Regions from separate parts of the Homo sapiens genome. Here all the other regions are linked to region 1. Evidence: promoter capture Hi-C in 16 types of primary human blood cells and fetal thymus (Javierre and others, 2016). All regions are on one chromosome and are shown on one strand. Each heading gives the region's core, a stretch centred on a gene start or on the middle of the fragment in contact. The rest is flanking DNA. Distances are from core to core; before and after follow the strand shown. Region 1 overlaps ZNF398 (zinc finger protein 398). Region 2 holds the start of ZNF467 (zinc finger protein 467). Region 3 holds the start of C7orf33 (chromosome 7 open reading frame 33).

Evidence for each region. The method cuts DNA at HindIII sites, captures the fragments that hold promoters and counts their contacts. A CHiCAGO score of 5 or more calls a contact.
Region 2: the fragment with the promoter of ZNF467 here is called in contact with a fragment that was not itself captured in region 1 in 1 of 17 cell types (neutrophils); the score reaches 5.0 in neutrophils.
Region 3: the fragment with the promoter of C7orf33 here is called in contact with a fragment that was not itself captured in region 1 in 1 of 17 cell types (fetal thymus); the score reaches 6.4 in fetal thymus.

Annotation. Positions count from the first base shown.
Region 1 is chr7:149,162,437-149,165,030 of GRCh38, forward strand. All of the region lies in intron 2 of ZNF398 (zinc finger protein 398), which reads left to right. It also overlaps the pseudogene LOC100420549. Among named protein-coding and RNA genes, the nearest start is that of ZNF398, 16 kb to the left of the region's middle. The HindIII fragment of the contact is 3,642 bases long and covers 1-2,594 here.
Region 2 is chr7:149,772,289-149,774,882 of GRCh38, forward strand. ZNF467 (zinc finger protein 467) reads right to left here and starts at 1,300. Exons shown (of 5, transcript NM_207336.3): 1 at 820-1,300. RefSeq lists a silencer at 743-922. The HindIII fragment of the contact is 21,836 bases long and covers 1-2,594 here.
Region 3 is chr7:148,589,481-148,592,074 of GRCh38, forward strand. C7orf33 (chromosome 7 open reading frame 33) reads left to right here and starts at 1,286. Exons shown (of 3, transcript NM_145304.4): 1 at 1,286-1,649. The coding sequence starts at 1,446. The HindIII fragment of the contact is 1,806 bases long and covers 229-2,034 here.

The DNA.
Region 1 (2,594 bases), core at 50-2,549:
CTCTCAAAGTGCTGGGATTACAGGTGTGAGACACTGTGCCTGGCCCCACAGCTGGCTAATTTTTAAATTTCTTTATACAGACAGGATCTCACTATGTTGTCCAGGCTGGTTTCGAACTCCTAACCTCAAGTGATGCTCCTGCCTTGGCCTCCCAAAGTGCTGAGATTACAGGCATGAGCCAGTGCACCTGGCCTGAATTATAGATTGCAAGACTGGGGAAAGATGTAGAACTATATAACCAGCTGCTTAGTGTTGATCCCACAAGAGGCAACAAATGAGTAGAGGAACTTGTTTGAGAAAAAGTCCATTTGTTTCAGAAATTAAAATAATTCATAGGCTGGCTGGGCACAGTGGTTCACGCCTGTACTCCCAGCACTTTGGGAGGCCGAGGTGGGCAGATCGCCTGAGGTCAGGAGTTTGAGACTAGCCTGGCCAACATGGCAAACCCCTGGGTGGGGGGAGGGGGGCGGCGGAGGTTGCAGTGAGCTGAGATCGTGCCATTGCACTCCAGCCTGGGCAACAGAGCGAGAGTCTGTCTCAAAAAATATATATATATTCATTCAGAGGCTGAAGTAGCAGATTTAACGGCTGAAAAAGAGAATTCTGGTGCTCAGTTAGAAAACGTCCTAAGAATACAGGTGTGACAGTTGGCTGAGATGCAGTTACAGTCAGGTCCCAGTAGGCCAAAAATGTCACGTAAACTGTAGGTTAAATGCTCGGAAAAAGAGCCACAATCAAACAATGAACAAAATACCTGTTTTGTTTGTTTGTTTGTTTGTTTTTTTCAGACAGAGTTTCACTCCTGTCGCCCAGGCTGGAGTGCAGTGGCGTGATCTCAGCTCACTGGAACCTCCGCCTCCCAGGTTCAAGCGATTCTCCTGCCTCAGCCTCTTGAGTAGCTGGGATTACAGGCATGCGCCATCATGCCCAGCTAATTTTTTTTTTTTTTTTTTGAGATGGAGTTTTGCCCTTGTCGTGCAGGCTGAAGTACAATGGTGTGATCTCGGCTCACCGCAACCTCCGCCTCCCGAGTTCAAGCGATTCTCCTGCCTCAGCCTCCCAGGTAGTTGGGACTACAGGCCTGTGCCACCACGCCCCTGGCTAATTTTGTATTTTTAGTAGAGACGGGGTTTCTCCATATTGGTCAGGCTGGTCTTGAACTCCCGACCTCAGGTGAGCCACCGCGCCCGGCCAAGCCCAGCTAATTTTTGTGTTTTTAGTAGAGACAGGGTTTCGCCATGTTGGTCAGGCTGGCCTCAAACTGCTGACCTTGGGTGATCCACCCGCCTTGGCCTTCCAAAGTTCTAGGAGCCACTGCGCCTGGCCAAAGTACCTTTTTAATCATTAAAGATTACATAAAACTGAACAAGAAAGAAATACCCTGACCAGGCTGGGAGTGGTGGCGGTGGCTCACGCCTGTAATCCCAGCACTTTGGGAGGCTGAGGTAGGTGAATCATTTGAGGTCAGGAGTCGAGCCCCACCTGACCAATATGGTGAAACCCCGTGTCTACTAAAAATACAAAAATGAGCCAGGCGTGATGGTGTGCACCTGTAATCCCAGCTACTTGGGAGGCTGAGGCAGGAGGATTGCTTGAACCCAGGAGACAGAGGTTGCAGTGAGCCGAGATAGCGTCACTGCACTCCAGCCTGGGTGATGGAGCAAGACTCCATCTTAAAAAAAGAAAGAGGGCCGGGCGCAGTGGCTTGAGCCTGTAATCCCAGCACTTTGGGAGGCCGAGGCGGGCAGATCACAAGGTCAGGAGATCGAGACCATCCTGGCTAACACGGTGAAACCCCATCTCTACTAAAAATACAAAAAATTAGCCGGGCGTGGTGGTGGGCGCCTGTAGTCCCAGCTACTTGGGAGGCTGAGGCAGGAGAAGGGCGTGAACCCGGGAGGCAGAGCTTTCAGTGAGCCAAGATCGCACCACTGCACTCCAGCCTGGGTGACAGAGCAAGACTCCGTCTCAAAAAAATAAAAATAAAAATAAAAAAAGAGAAAGAAAGAAATACACTGAGCACTAAAGTCAAAGAACGAAACTTTCAAGCATACTAGAAATAACAGCCATGAAACTAGAGGCAGCAAGAGTGAGCTAGAAAGGGAAAGGAAAAAGATTCAAAGTGAACTGGATGGTTTACTGTCAGACAATGAAATTCTGAGACCAGCTATTGAACACCACAAAGTGCCCTTAGTAAAAAAAGATCATATATTAATATGTAAGGCACCAGATGCCAAGGAAGAAGGTTGTAAAAGACTTCTGGCATTACAGGATGAAAAGCTAGAATTTGAAAACAAGTTAGCAGATAGAAAATGAAAGTGGATCATGATGTCTGCAAGCAATGTGAAAAGCATCAGTGTGAAAAGAAATTGTGGGAGGCCGGGCACGGTGGCTCACACCTGTAATCCCAGCACTTTGGGAGGCTGAGGCAGGTGGATCACGAGGTCAGGAACTCGAGACCAGCCTGACCAACGTGGTGAAACCCCATTTCTACTAAAAATACAAGAATTAGCGGTGTGTGGTGGCGGGTGCCCGTAATCCTGGCTACTTGGGAGGCTGAGGCAGGAGAATTGCTTGAACTCGGGAGGCAGAGG
Region 2 (2,594 bases), core at 50-2,549, 610 kb after region 1:
CTCCGAGGCCCCCGCCTCCCTTCCCCCTCTGTCTCCCCAGCAGGCTCCAGCTTCGCTTCCCTCCCCGTCCCCAGTCCCCAGAACCGCTCTTCCCCTCCCCCCTCCCAGGCTGCTTCCCAGCTCCCGGGTCCTCCGGCCCCCAAGCCTGGGGGTCTAGGGCTGACCCGCTCTCTCGGGACCTTCCCGCGGGCCCTGCCCTCCCCACTCCGTCTCCCCTCCGAACACCCCTCCGCGCCTCTCTTCTCCGCCGCGGCGCCCCCTCCCTATTTCTGCTCCCCTCGGACTTCTCACCCCTCCCAAGTTTTCCTCCCGACGGGACCCTCAGCTCCACCTCCCTGCCCCGCCGCCCTCCCAAGCAGCTCCGATCGCCGACTTCATTCCAGGTCCCGGCCCCCTCCCCAGCTCCGGGGCTCACCTGTCAGCGCCCTCCTCTCCCGCCCCTACCGAGTGGCCCGGTCCCCAGCGCCCGCTTCTTCCTCCCCTTCCCCCTCGGCCCCCTCCCACACTCCCTCTCTCCTCCCCTCGGGGCCCGTCGTCCCCCTTCCCACCTGCCTCCCGCCCGACCCCCTCCCAGCCCCCGCCCTTCCCTCCAGCCCCCCCGGTCTCCTCTACCCCCACAGCCCTCACCCTGCCCGCGCCGGCCTTGCCCTCCCTTCCCCCCAGCCCCCGACCTCCCCGGACCCGCGCCCCTCCCCCACGCCCGCCGTCCGCGCCCCTACCCCCGGGGCTGTCACCTGCGCGGAGCCGGCCGTGACCCAACCGCGGCGCTGAGGGAGACGCGGGCGGGGCCGCCTGCAGAGGAGCCTCCCCGGCCCTTACCTGGCTGGCCGGCCGCTCCGCCCGCGCCGCGGGGACCCAGGCGCCCGGGCCTCCTGCCCCGCCGGCTCTGCTCACAATGGCGCTCGCCGCCTGCAGCTCGGGTGCTGACGGCCTGAAAGACTGACAGACTGACAGCCCCGAAACTTCGCGGGGAGGAGAGGGATAGACGCGCGGGGAGTCGAAGCCGGGAAACGGCGCCTGCAAGGGAGGAGGGACCGAGGGAGCGGGCGGAGAGCCCCGGCGCACCGGGCTGGGGGAGGCAGGGGCAGGGGGTTTCAGGAGTGGGGTCCCAGGAGGGAGCACCGTGGGCTTAGGTGGGCAGGTGATGGTCCTAAGGCTCCGAGCCTGGAGTAGGTGTGGAAGTGGGAGCTCAGGACGGGGGAGGGGAGGGGAGGGGAGGGGAGGGTGATGGGAGAGGGGGTGGAGGAGGGCGAGGAGGCTGGGGAGGACAGGCACTCGGGCTGCGGGGAAGGGTGCCAAGGGAGGGTGCTCGCGGCCGCGGAGGGAGGAGCCGGGGAAAGGTGGAGCGCGAACGGGTGGGGGGGTGGCGGGGAGGAGTTGGGGGAACGAGGAGGGGCCGTGTCGGGGGGGAGCCAGCGAGTCGTGCGCTGCCGTCTCTAAGTCGCCGGTGCCAGCCGGGTGTGCAGCGCCGCGCTCCCGCGGGAGGACGGCCCGGGGGGTCGGTCTGGGAAACTCCGGCCCCGCCCCCATTCTCCACCCGGATTCCACCCCGATCCACCCAGACCCGCAGCCCCTCGCCTGGAGTCCCGAGGACCCGATTCGAAACCAGCCGCGGGAGCCGTGGGGGCAGGCGGGAGAGAGGGCTGGGCCCCTGTGCTTGCGAGAACGGGTCCTTCGAAGTAGAAACTGGGGAGAGGACTTTAAGCCAGGTCCCCTGGGAGAAGGCCGGGCCAGGTCGGGAGCTCCAGGGGGCAAGGCTGGGACGGGGCTGGGCGGAGATTCTGAGGGCGGGGTCCGGGGGAGGGTCTGGGAGGGGGCTGCAGAGAGGGGAGGGCTCTATGGGCGGGAGACGATTGCTGGGGGGCCTGCTGGCCCGGACACCACCTGGAGTTAGATGTGGAGGGCAGCCCTCAGCCCTCAGCCCTCAGCCCCAGCTCCTCAGGGGACTCCACTCGCCCTCCCTGCCCAGGTTACGAGGTTTCTCCTTGGCCTTGTTCCCGCTGCGCCCACTCCTGAAAGCTCCGGAGATGCTGAAGTCTGGACTGTTAGTTCCCGGTCTCCTCTCCATGAACTTTCTCCAAACCCCTGGGTTCCAGCTTCCTCCCTTCTGCCCCTTTACGGGAAAGGGTGACTGCAACTCGGGTCTCTTCCCAATCCCAGTGCTGCCTGATCAGCCCCGGTTTGAATCCAGAGCTGAGTGAGGCTGGGAAGGGGAGGGTGTGAATGGCCCTTGAGCTCCTGCTACCACAGCCCACCACAAGGATGAGTGCCTGGAAGAGCGCCCATCACTCGGGCTCAGCTGTGAAGGCTCCTCTGCCTCCAGGATGAAGGGAGCACCTGGAGTAGCATGTGTCACTGTGCGTGCTGGGGTGTGGCCGAGCACCTGTGCCGGTGTTGTGAGACTTACAGTGAGAGTGTGCATGTGTGTAAAACAGGAAAGGGGGGTGTCTGGGTGTGCGTGTGGCTCTTTCTGAGGACTCCAGAGCAGGAGTTGATCCCAGTCATCCGTGACCCCCTGAGAGACTCACTCTGGGCCCTTTTTTGGCCCTGGGACCAATGGTGAACCCAGGAGAAGGAGAGCCCGGCCCAGCTCT
Region 3 (2,594 bases), core at 36-2,535, 570 kb before region 1:
CAGGCCAAGTTCTTGGAACTCCAGCACCTCTAGACTCACCAGCCCCACCAGCCCCTCTGGCCCCTCCAGCCCCACCAGCCCCACCAGCCCCACCAGCCCCTCCAGCCCCTCCAGCTCTGCTGCAGGAAATCCTGCCTCAGGGAATCATGATGCACCACCCAAGGAAGTATTTGCAGAAAAAAGAGATTCCATTATTGCCTTCCCTCAAGGGTGGTGTTGAGCCCATTAAGCTTTTCCCCAGCAGTACACAGAGTAATCTTAGGGATTCTGGTGGGAAAAATATCCCAAATTCTGCTTCCTTATGCTTCACCACATGACCCTAGGGCACACGCACTAATCAAGAACAGCCCAGGGCATCCTGTCACCCCCCACGGTGCACCTGCAAACTGGCTTTTACAGCAACCTTGTCTTCCAAATGGGTCCGTATCTTTCTAGGCATCTTTTGTAATGCTAACCTGTTTGGCATTACCCAGAAATGCTAACATTTCTACCACTTTAACTAATCTTAAGAGATTAAATCACACTCCATGATACTCCTGACAACAAATAGCATTTTAACCAGTAATTTACGATAAGAAGATTTTCAATCAGTGGGCTAAGCCCTTCCCTGGTGATTTAAGAAACTGCCAGCCTCGATGGAGATTCTTCCATCAATTCCTCATCATTATAAAAGAAACAATGGAGGAAAAACTCATCCAATTAAGTGACAATTCCAATGTGTAAATCTTGTAATATTTTTTGCATTTGTGATATGGGTTCTACACTAAAAATGCAACTTGTCTAATCTGAATGAGATGAAAAATCCTGAAAAAGGATGTTATCCTCAATATTTTGTTTGTGCCTCTTGATTTAGTAAACTCCCAACCACTTTTTCATCCTTCCCTGCCAAACCCCGCTACAAAATGTTTCTCATTATGACCTGAGACATTAATTCTGATTGTAGAGGTTTTAGATCATTTCTTCTAGGTGTTAATCAGTTCTGGCCATATGGTGAGGGTGAGGTAATCATTATTACTTTACAATGAATGCCCTTAATTACTTTTTCAGTAGTAATATTAGTCCTTCTGTTTATTTGAGTACCTAAGAGCTGCAGGCAACGTGATCTGAATTACATGGAGGACAAGCTCCAGCTGACTTTCCGTAAACTCGCATTAGGATTCTAATAGGAGACGACAGGAGCAGGTGGGGATAATGAGCTGGCGGAAGGGGCTGCCTATCACACTGCTCGGTGGCCCCTCTTTCACCCCCACTTTGCCTCAGGCATTTTCTACTCAGCTGTGACCTTACTTATGGTGATGCCAATCCAGTGGTCAGGAGCGAGGCGCCCAGCCTGTGTCTGAATCCTCCTACTGACCCTGGGGATCCGTGCGACTTGATCTTAGATATTGGTGGTGAAGCGCCGCTCTCCTTGACAGCATCCAGGAAAGGTAATTACCTTTGCCAAAATGCAAGTGGAAGTTCAAAGCCTCAGCCTTGAAGAGTGTCCCTGGAGACTTCCAGGCCCCCAATGTGAATGTGAAGCCCTCCTGCCCAGTGGGGCAAGGCGCCGGATTGACCTTCGCCTGAGTGGGAGGGCAGTCGCTGTTTGGGTCCACGTTAGGGGCGGTCCAGGTCAATTTAACTTGTCATATGCCACGGGAAGACATAAGGTAAGTTAATGATTCTAAGATGAATCAACTGCTCTTTGAGTCAGTCAGTATCTCTTGAGAATTCATTCACTCAATCCATGAATGTTTTTGACTCTCTACTATGTGTTATGGAACTGGGCTTAACGACATTGAAGTAAAGAGAGAGACAGAGATTAATTCACTGCCCCAAAGAAGGCCTGGAATCTTCTTAGGGAAAAGAATCCTCACAAAACACTCCACTGAGTATTCTTGTGTTTAGCCTGAGTCATGTTGATTTGAAAAATTCCAGCGTAAAAATTGTATATTTTCACACAGTGTGGTAGAAGGAATGCGCTTGTTCTCAGACTATGTTTTGCCCTGGAGATGGGTCCACAGGAAGCCTCTATCTTGGTCACCCTTTGGCACAAGCTTTGCACCTGTTCCCTTCTCCTTGCCTAGATTCTTGTCTCTTCTCTCGCTTTAAAGACCAGGAGTTGTTGTTGTTGTTTTAGAGATAGTATCTTGCTCTGTCACCCAGGCTGGAGTGCAGTGTCACAATCATAGCTCACTGCAGCATCAACCTCCTGGCTTCAAGTGATCCTCCCAGAGGAGCCTCCCGGGTGGCTAGGACTACAGCCATGTGCCATCAGGCTTAGCTAATTTTTTTATTTTTTGTAGAAATGGGGTCTTGCCATGTTGCCCAGGCTGGTCTTGAACTCCTGTCCTCAAACGATCCTCCCACTTCAACATCCCGAAGTGCCACCCATGCCCAGCAAGACCTGGATCCTTAACTCTTTGCCTGTCTTTGATCTTTGACACCTCCTGATCCCCAAGCCCCTGCCTCCCACTAGGCAGGCATTTTTGGTTAAAGTATGAGCTCCCACTTTGTATTTATCTCCAGCTTTGGGTGTTCAGTTTGATGGGAACCACAGGTGTCCCCACCTAGTTCTCCAGCCCTAATTTGTTTTCTCCCATGTTGCAGTTCCT